3 separate regions of the Homo sapiens genome follow, and regions 1 and 2 are each linked to region 3. The links are contacts of gene promoters, found by promoter capture Hi-C in blood cells and fetal thymus (Javierre and others, 2016). All regions are on one chromosome and are shown on one strand. Each heading gives the region's core, a stretch centred on a gene start or on the middle of the fragment in contact. The rest is flanking DNA. Distances are from core to core; before and after follow the strand shown.

Region 1 (2,863 bases), core at 228-2,727, 300 kb after region 3:
AATCATACCTCATGGCAGCCTCAAACTCCTGGGCTCAAGCCATGCTCCCACCTGAGCCGCTTGAGTAGCTGGGATACAGGCACACACCACCACACCCAGCTAATTTTTTACTTTTAATTTTTTAAAGGTTGGGGGGCAGGGGGCGGCCGGGTGCAGTGGCTCAAGCCTGTAATCCCAGCACTTTGGGAGGCCGAGGTGGGTGGATCACGAGGTCAGGAGATCAAGACCATCCTGGCTAACATGGTGAAACCCCGTCTCTACTAAAAATACAAAAAATTAGCCGGGCGTGGTGGCGGGTGCCTGTAGTCCCAGCTACTCGGGAGGCTGAGGCAGGAGAATCACTTGAACCCGGGAGACAGAGCTTGCAGTGAGCCGAGATCATGCCACTGTACTCCAGCCTGGGCAACAGAGCGAAACTCCGTCTCAAAAAAAAAAAAATTAGCCGGGCGCGGTGGCGGGCGCCTGTAGTCCCAGCTACTCAGGAGGCTGAGGCAGGAGAATGGCGTGAACCCAGGAGGCAGAGCTTCCAGTGAGCCGAGATCACACCACTGCATTCCGGCCTGGGTGACAGAGCAAGACTCCGCCTCAAAAAAAAAAAAAGAAAAGGTGGGGGGCGTCTCACTATGTTGACCAGGCTGGTCTTGAACTGCTGGCCTTAAGCGATCCTCCTGTCTAGGCCTCCCAAAGTGTTGGAATTACAGGAGTGAACCATCGTGCCTGGCTAATAATTCCTTTTAAAAAGCAGCTTACCCTTATTTTCACGTGTGGGCCTAATTTAGTTCACTTAAAAAAATCATTTATCTTCACCCCAGCCCTATGAGGCAGGCACTGCCGGTCCTGGTCTGTGGTAGAGGGGAGGGCAGAGGAGCCGTGAGGGTGACCAGGCGCTGTGGGTCGGTGCTGGGTCCAGTCAGACCAGGACTCCTGGCCAGTCACGGCACCTTGACCCCGGCAGTCCTCGCCCTGGGCGGTGAGCACCACACACAGGGCTTACGCGAGCACACACGCATATGCACGCACCGGCAGCCTTGGGCTGAGCCGGCTGTCAGCCTCTGCCCTGCTCCAGCTTGGACCAGGCTGGCTCCTTGCAGGACCAGGAGGGTGTCCGGCGACTGGACACGGAGACCAAGCCTCCCTCAGCCCCGCCTGGGTTTGAAGGCTGCTGCACTCGACCCCAGACCCCAGAGCTGAAGGTTTACCTGTGCTCAGCCCCTGAGCCCCCGCCTCCCGCTGGTCCCTAAGCCCCCCCGGCAGGGCCGCAGAGCCACAGCTGCAGCGGCTCCTGGGAGGCTGGGAGCTCCTCAGAGGCCCACACAGCTCTAACTCCTACAAGCCCCTGATTACAGTTCAACTCCCGGATCAGCCGATCAGGTAACATGGCTGGAGAAACCCATGACTCAGCAATCTGTAGGTAAATAATTGAACTACAGAGTCCAGGGCACAGACCACTGCCTGCAGGTTGGCGCCACCACCCCCACTCTCCCCGCTGCTCGCGGGAGCCAGAGGGCCCTGCGGTCCTCGGTGGTCTTGCCAGCCCCTCGTCATCCCAGGGCCCTCCGCGCCTGTGAGGACTCCCTCAGGTAAGAACCATCCTGGGCCCAGATCTCAGCTGCAGCAGAGGGGGGCGTGGGAGCCGAGGCCAGAAATGCCCTGGACTCGTGGTTTCTTAGGGGCACCCTCAGGCTCAAGGCAGGTGGCCCTACTGTCCCCATTCCACACACCTGGACCCCAGGGGCTTGGGGTGGGCTTCAGGGCATCCAGGGACCCAGTGTGGTGGGGTCTTCCAGGGAAGGGGACACAACTCTTGCAATGTTGCCTGAGGGCCAGGACCCCCGCTCTGTGCCCCAGGGGTGCTGTGCCCAGCCTGCATGTGTCAACCTACCAGGCTGGGCTCACTGCCCCAACACACCCGCCAGGAGACTGGAGCTCGCACACCCTGGGCCAGCGTGCAAACAGCAGGCTCAGCCCAGGCTCCAGGGTGTCCTGGGCACCTGGTGTCCTGGGAGCAAAGTCTTTGCCTAACGTCGCTGAGAAGAATGTTTAAAGTGAAAGTACATTGGAGTCTGCAAACAGGACAGACCCGAGGCCTCACGTGGGACCAGTCAGGCCTCTAAGCACCGCCTCCCTAACGCCACGGTGTTTTCCGAGATCAAGGGAAAGGTCAGGTGCCCTTCCGGCTCTGCCGGCCCAGGGTGACTGTGTGCAGCGGGCTGGGCCCTCTCGGTGCTGCCTCGGGACAGTGTGTCATGGCCGTTCCACAGTGAGCTGGTGCAGCCTGGGAAAAAGGGCGCCTCACGTCCCAGAACTGTCTGGGCAGGGGAGACAGACGCCAGTCACCCTCCTCCCCTCCCAGCTGGCCCTGATGGGGCCCCCGTCCAGGCATATTCTCAGAATTCTGTCCCAAGTCCAGGCGGATGGGCTAGGCTAGTGTCTGAGTGCTGCTCCCCCAGCAGACTTGGGGTCCCAGTACCCACAAAGCTTGGCAGGGACATAGGAGGCCTCTTCCTGAGACTTCCGCCAGCCCCAGGACCCACAGGGCAGGTGACAGAGGGGTGGGTGGAGGTGTCTCCAGGAGAGCAGGCGATGGTTTGGATGGGGGAGGGAGGGCTCTGGTGTGGGCATGGGGTGGACAGCAGGACCGTTTGCCAACCTGGGGAGCCAGGGAGGTGGACACGGAGCAGCTGGACTCAGGCTTGCCTGCACCTGTGTCCAGTGACTGTGACATTCTGACGGTAGGCACATGTGCGTGGTGGCAGCCCAGCCTGTTCCTGCCCCGTTGGGGAGGTGAGCTTCAGGAGGCTACAGGGTGGTTTTCAGCCAGGAACCGCAGAGCCAATAGGCCGGAGCTGAGCCTGGACAGGGT
Region 2 (2,911 bases), core at 192-2,691, 350 kb before region 3:
TTTCCTGTTTTTCATTCTTGCACTTTTAATAAAATCGTAGGGGTTTCGAGTTTGCGATAGCAAAAGAAAACATTAATACTTTTTTGAAATTTTCTTGTTTTTTTCTCAATACAATTCATGAAAGGTCATTGAAGTTAATCAATGCCACTTTCTTAACTGACATGGGCCACAGATCAAAGGTGGGCAAAGGTGGCGAGTGGTGTGGTTTTGTTGGATCAGCTTTCCTGAGGCCGAGCTGCTTGGGTGAAAGTGGGGTTCTGGCTCTCGGGTGACCCTCCTGCCTCTGCCCTGCAAGACGGGGGATGGCGCTGGGGAGTTTGGGGCCTTAGCAAGTGGGATCCCCCTTCCTGGCCAGGCTCTGCCCTCCTCCGTTGGGGCAGTGCCTACTCTCCTGCTGTGCTGGCCCGGGGTCAGGAGCCCTCCTGTCGTTGGCAGGCCCTGGGTGGCTCCTGTGCTGGGACTGACAGAACAGGGGCTCAAGAGAGTGTCACCTGCTCCCCAGAGCCACCCCTGGCCTCGTGTGAAGGGAAGGGAGGGCCCTGGCATTGGACTTTGACACAGTTGCCAGACTGCACAGGAAGGTTGTGTTTTGGATTAAATTTGTGGAGATCAGCTCCGGGTGGTTTAGCAAAAGCCACAGTCACCTGCGTAGTCATCCAGGGTGCTGGGATTTGGGGTGGGGCGGGCGGTGCTCTGAGATGACTTAGTACAGGGCAGGGTCCCTCAGGTCAGAGGCTGGCTGTGGGGCTGGAGTGGCCTCCAGGGCACCGGCCACTGGTCTGCAGGACATGGCAATCTGGACAGCAATGGGAGACAGGGCTGTGGGGCTGGCATGGTGGTGGTGTCAGGCCTGCCAGGGTCCCACAGGGCCCTCTGCTGCAGGTCGGGGAGGGCGTCAGAGATGAGGCAGGGTGTGTCGCTGTGGCTGCAGAGGGGCCCGAGGTCCCCACCAAGGCCTGGATGCCCCAGGGGCAGGTGGGGCCTCGCCCCCTCCCTGCAGTCACTCTCTACGCTGAGTCCACCCGGCGTCCCCTCCCGCTGGATGGTGACCCAGGTTTGGGAGATCTGTCCACTGTGTTACCTGGAGTCTAGAACAGTTCCCAGCTGACTCTCGCTACCTGAGTCCCCTTCAAGGACAGGCAGGAGGAGGGGGGCCACTGACTGCTCACACCCCAGCCCAGGGGCCCCTCACCAGCTCTGAGCCTGGCCTGGGTGTGTGGGAGCGAGGGGATGTGGGGTGAGCTGGGGTTTACGTGTGCAGTCACCAGCCGCCCCCCACCCCTCCGACACTCCCCTTCCCTTGACGGAGCGTCTGGTCCTGCCTGCAACCCTTGGACTTGCCACCTTCCCCCAGGGCTTCCCCACCTCTCTCACCTCCTACCCTACCTCATCTCCTCCTTCCCCAAACCTCTGGCTCTCCTGGGCAGAACCTTTCCGGCTGGCTGGTGAGTGGGGCTGGAGGCTCCTCCTGAGGCCCGAGCCCAGGGCCATTCCCCTCGGTGCCCTTGATGTAGGGTGTCTGGTTGGTGGGGCCCTCGGTGGGGCAGTGCAGCCGGTTCTTCTGCAGTGCCGACCTGCTGTGTCCTCTGCGGGTGGGGAGACTGAGACGGAAGGTTCAGGGCACCCTTGGGTCCCCTGTCTGCCTAGCACAGGGTGGCGTGTGTGTGCGAGTGAGCTCACAGCCCGGCCCCTGGGGCTTGTCCCCAGGGCTGTATTTTCCCTTGGGCGTGTCTGCGTGTTTCCTGGAATGGGGGGCCAGGACCCTCACCAGGGGCATTTGAGTCCCTTGGTTGGCCCTGCAGGGTCACCTGCCTGAGGCCGGGGGCAGCCTTGGGGGTTGGCCTGCTGCCTCGTGTGGATGCTTGGCCCCTTGGGGATGGAGAGAGGCTGCTGCTGAAGCTGCAGGAAGTTCTGGTGGGGTGGGGGCTGCTCAGCTGTGTCACCCACGGTGGGCCTGGACTTGGTCTTTCCTCGACTAGCCACAGGCAGGGGGTCCCAGGGCCCTCTGGGGTGACCCCAGAGCCGTGGACAGGTGGATGGGAGGAATGGGGGGCCTGAGGCACAGTGCAGCCCCTGGGTCCCTGGGACCTGCTTTGGGCACCCACCTCAGCGGTCAGCCCGTGTGGGATCCACTGGGCTGGGCAGACATGGTGGGAGGGCCGGGGTTGTGCCTGGTACCCTGGGACAGCTCCCTTCCTGCGCTGGGGGCCTGTGAGGCCACTCCTCAGTCCCAAGGCTGGGATCCTTCAGACAGGCCCCTCCCTGCCCCTAGCCCCCAGCACTGCTGCAGTGGCCCACCCCTGCCCACCCCTGCCCACCCCTGCCGGGCTGCCCCCAGCCCTCCCCCTCTCCTGGGGCCTTCCCCACTGCAGGGCTCCTGTCCCTGTGGAGGGCTCCTGAGGGGAAGAGGCTGAGGCGAGGTGGGGCAGGGATATGGGGATGAGAGAGGGATGGCTTCCCCACCCTTCCCAGAGCATCCACACCTATGTCTTCTCCTGAATACGTCTCCATCCTCCCCCAGGCTCCCTCTGTCCCTCGAGGGCTGGCCTCACCCCCAACCGTTCCCTCCAGCCCTGCCCAGAGCCTCTGAAGACCCGGGGAGGTGGGGACGGCCTGGCTGGGAGCCTCCCTGGCAGCGTGGGGTGGCAGCCTCTGTGCCAGGGCCTCAGAGCCAGCCAGTCCCCTGCAGTCACAGGCCCCGTGCTTGTCTAACTTTTTGTTCCTTATCCTGGGCCTATTCTCTGGCCATCCCCGCCCCCACCCCCCACCCGAGCATGGGTGCCGGAGGCATGGCAGCCCAGCCCAGCTGAGAGCCCCGGACCTCCCTGTGCCGAGAGCTTGTCTGCCCAGGCACTCCCCAGCCCCAGACGGTTGTGGCCCTCACCAGGCAGCCCTCACCAGGAGAGGAGCC
Region 3 (2,956 bases), core at 326-2,825:
AGAGATCCACCAATGTCACTGAGTATTAAAAACCAACCACCTACATCTTGGAGGGATCTAGCAAGAGGCTAGACCTTTGGTAACGTCAGCAACATTGCCCTCCCTTCCTTGATCAAAAGAAGTGCTGGACACACAAGCACCATGAAACCCCACTGCGAAACCATTAGTGTGGCGGGCGCGTGGCTCACACCTGTCAGCCCAGCGCTTTGGGAGGTCAAAAGGCAGGAGGATCGCTTAAGTCCTGGAATCCAAAACCACCCTAGGCAACAGTGAAACCCCGTTTCTTTTTAAAAATATGAAATAAACCGCTAGTTAATAAAGAGGAGGAGAAGCTTGCTTCTGCTTTCCTATGAAGACCAGCTACAGCAGGGTACAGCCTGACTTCAGCAGCGCTAACTGTAGCAGGGACCTTTTAATGAATGCTAGGCACTGTTTGAAACAATACGTGGTCACTCATTTCACCCTGAGGTGACACAGGCGCTACCACTGCTTAAACCTGACAAGAATAAACAGTCACCAACCGGGCCCTGATGTCTCCCAGTAAGGACGAATACAGAGAAGCCTGATTCACACCCCAGCAGGATGGCTCACAGCCTGTGCTCTTCAGCCCTTCGCTGAACTGCCCTGGGGCTGGGGGAACGCACAGCAACCTGGCCATACTGCATCCTCCACACCTGTCGCCACACCGTCCGTCCTCAGACGGACGTGAACACCAGGGCGCTCTGGGAGGAGAGAGAAACTACGCAGCTCTCCAGGAAGGCAACACAGAACCACGAAGCTCAGCCGCAGCTCTAGGAAAGCTATGACCTTGATCTTTTAAGGAATTCCTTCCCAGGTGCTTCATATCAAATCCTCTACTAACTAGGTAAAGAACAAGTATCGGCTCCTTCTACTAGGAGCACAAATTTCATTCTAAGAAGTGCGACGTGGCTAGGTGACCACCCAAGGTCACGCAACCGGCAGCCGGACGGCAAGAGCTGTATTTCAGGTTTGGTGACGCCCATCAAAAAGGTCGCTGGGTGCCATCAGGCCGTGAGGTTTCTCCCTACAGTTCCTAACTAGCGACCGGCGCAGCCGGCACCTCCCAGCCCTGGGCTCCCGGGAGGGCGGCCGGGCACTGGCTGGGCACGCCGCGCACTCCGTCTGCCTGGGCGCCAGAGACCCCACGCCCCGCAAACTCCGGCTTCCACCCCAGCCCCAAATTCGCCACCCTTAGCGCTGCCAGAGTCGTCGCTGGCTCGGCTCACGCAGCTCTTCAAGCAGAGGGGCCACAGTCGGGCGCCTGGCAGGGCCAAAGCCGCCGCCCCCGCCACACCTGCCCGGCGCGGACCGGGCGCCCCTGAGAAGCCCGCACGGCCCCGCGAGGCCGCGCCCAGCTCCCGCCGCCCTCGCCGCTGGCCCTCCCGGGGCGGCCCCTCGCGGCCCGAGGGCACTGGCTGGAGACGCCTTCGCTGCCCTCAGCCTGCGCGGCGCAGGCGCCCACCTTGAGGGTCGGGTACTCCTGGACCTTCAGGGTCATGGACAACTGAGCCGCCGACTCCTGCACCGCCATCTTGAAGCGGCCAAAACATTAGCGGGCGGGGGACGCGCGAGCGCGCTGCACGCCGGGAAATGACGCCACGCGCCGGCCGGAGCAGGATGGGGGCGGGCCGATGCCCCTGCACCAATCGTATCCGCCCAGTCGGCCGGAGGCGGAAGAAGGCGCGAACCAATCACTGCCGGGTTTCCTCTCGTTCAGCCAATCAACGATAGCCCCGGCTGGCGGTTTCCACCTTGAATTCGCTACCGGGTTCAGGCCGCAGACGCCGGAGCTGGGGATGCTCCTGGCCCGGGGCGGGCCGATGGGGTGCGGGCTGCGGCCCGGGCGGGTGGAGCTGGGGCCGAGCGGGCTGGGGGACTTGGCGTCCGTCCAGTTACTTGGGGCTCCCGCGGGGTGGTCCCCTGTGGGTCCCTCGTGCCTGCGGTACCAAGGGCAACGCCAACAAAACGCCTGGCCGCATGCGCCTGTAGCCAGCTATTTTTCTTTGGCCTTATTTTGACCGATTTACAGCTGCTGGAATCCTGATGTGGAACCTCCGACTTCCCAACGGAAGAGGAAAGGCCCAGTACCTAAAACTGATTTATGGACAGAAACTCCCGAAGCATGAGAAGCGTGTGGCCTCTCCGCCCTCTCCTTGCAGGGCGGGCAGCGCTGGCATCCAGGTCGTGCGCTGCCTTCATTTCAGCCACTTCACATTCTCAGCCTTTCAAACACCACCCGTCTCCCTCCTTTCCAAAATAAAACTGAAATTAGATTTTATTAATTAGGAAATGACGTCCCAATTAAACCACCTTGTGTTTCACATAACACATTTCTAAACAACTTTTAAAATATTTGGTGTTTAAACAAAGGAAAAACATCTAAGGTGACACAGCGATGAAGGGAGAACCTCCGCTTGGAGGCTGCTACATGTTACAGCCGCAAGACATCCGACCCGCACTGTGGAATCTTTCTCTGTCTTACTTAAACAGGAGTTGGGACTAAGGAAAGTGTTATTCCTCAAGTGTGTGGCTGCAGACTCCAGTCTTTTAGACATTTGAAGTAAGTTTTACAGTGAGGTGCACAAATCTTAACTATACAGCTTTAATGAATTTTCACCCATATTTGCACTTTTATCTAACCGTGTCCTGGTTGAGATTTAGGACATTTCCCGTGGCACAGAAAGCTCCTCTGCCCCTTCCCGGGCTATATCCCCATCATTCTAACCCTGCTCCCCGTAACAGCGTTCCTGACCTTCCTATAGAGATGGAAGCATGCACTCTGTACTCTTTGCGTCCTTTCACGGTTCGCATCGTGTCTGCCACTCTCCGGGATGGTCCCAGTAGTACACAGGAGCACTGCAGCAGTTGGATGGACTGCACTCCTCTTAGAGACTGCCTTCACTTCACCAGGGATTCAAGATTAACCCAAAGGAAA

The links. Contacts are between HindIII fragments. The CHiCAGO score rates a contact against its expected background, and 5 or more counts as called.
Region 1: a contact is called between the fragment with the promoter of SLC26A1 here and the fragment with the promoter of MAEA in region 3, in 2 of 17 cell types (M1 macrophages and M2 macrophages). The highest score is 5.8, in M1 macrophages.
Region 2: a fragment that was not itself captured here is called in contact with the fragment with the promoter of MAEA in region 3 in 1 of 17 cell types (endothelial precursors); the score reaches 5.9 in endothelial precursors.

Annotation. Positions count from the first base shown.
Region 1 is chr4:992,018-994,880 of GRCh38, reverse strand. It overlaps SLC26A1 (solute carrier family 26 member 1), which reads left to right and starts at 1,477. Exons shown (of 3, transcript NM_022042.4): 1 at 1,477-1,580. The region is part of intron 2 of IDUA (alpha-L-iduronidase); the gene reads right to left. RefSeq lists enhancers at 517-1,328, 1,329-2,140. The HindIII fragment of the contact is 37,873 bases long and covers 1-2,480 here.
Region 2 is chr4:1,637,046-1,639,956 of GRCh38, reverse strand. FAM53A (family with sequence similarity 53 member A) reads left to right here. Exons shown (of 5, transcript NM_001174070.3): 5 at 1-70. Among named protein-coding and RNA genes, the nearest start is that of FAM53A, 46 kb to the left of the region's middle. The HindIII fragment of the contact is 4,008 bases long and covers 1-2,911 here.
Region 3 is chr4:1,288,510-1,291,465 of GRCh38, reverse strand. MAEA (macrophage erythroblast attacher, E3 ubiquitin ligase) reads right to left here and starts at 1,575. Exons shown (of 9, transcript NM_001017405.3): 1 at 1,484-1,575. The coding sequence starts at 1,552. It overlaps LOC105374347 (a long non-coding RNA gene), which reads left to right and starts at 1,895. Exons shown (of 3, transcript XR_925046.3): 1 at 1,895-2,581. RefSeq lists silencers at 1-176, 1,265-1,544, 1,645-2,054. The HindIII fragment of the contact is 13,993 bases long and covers 335-2,956 here.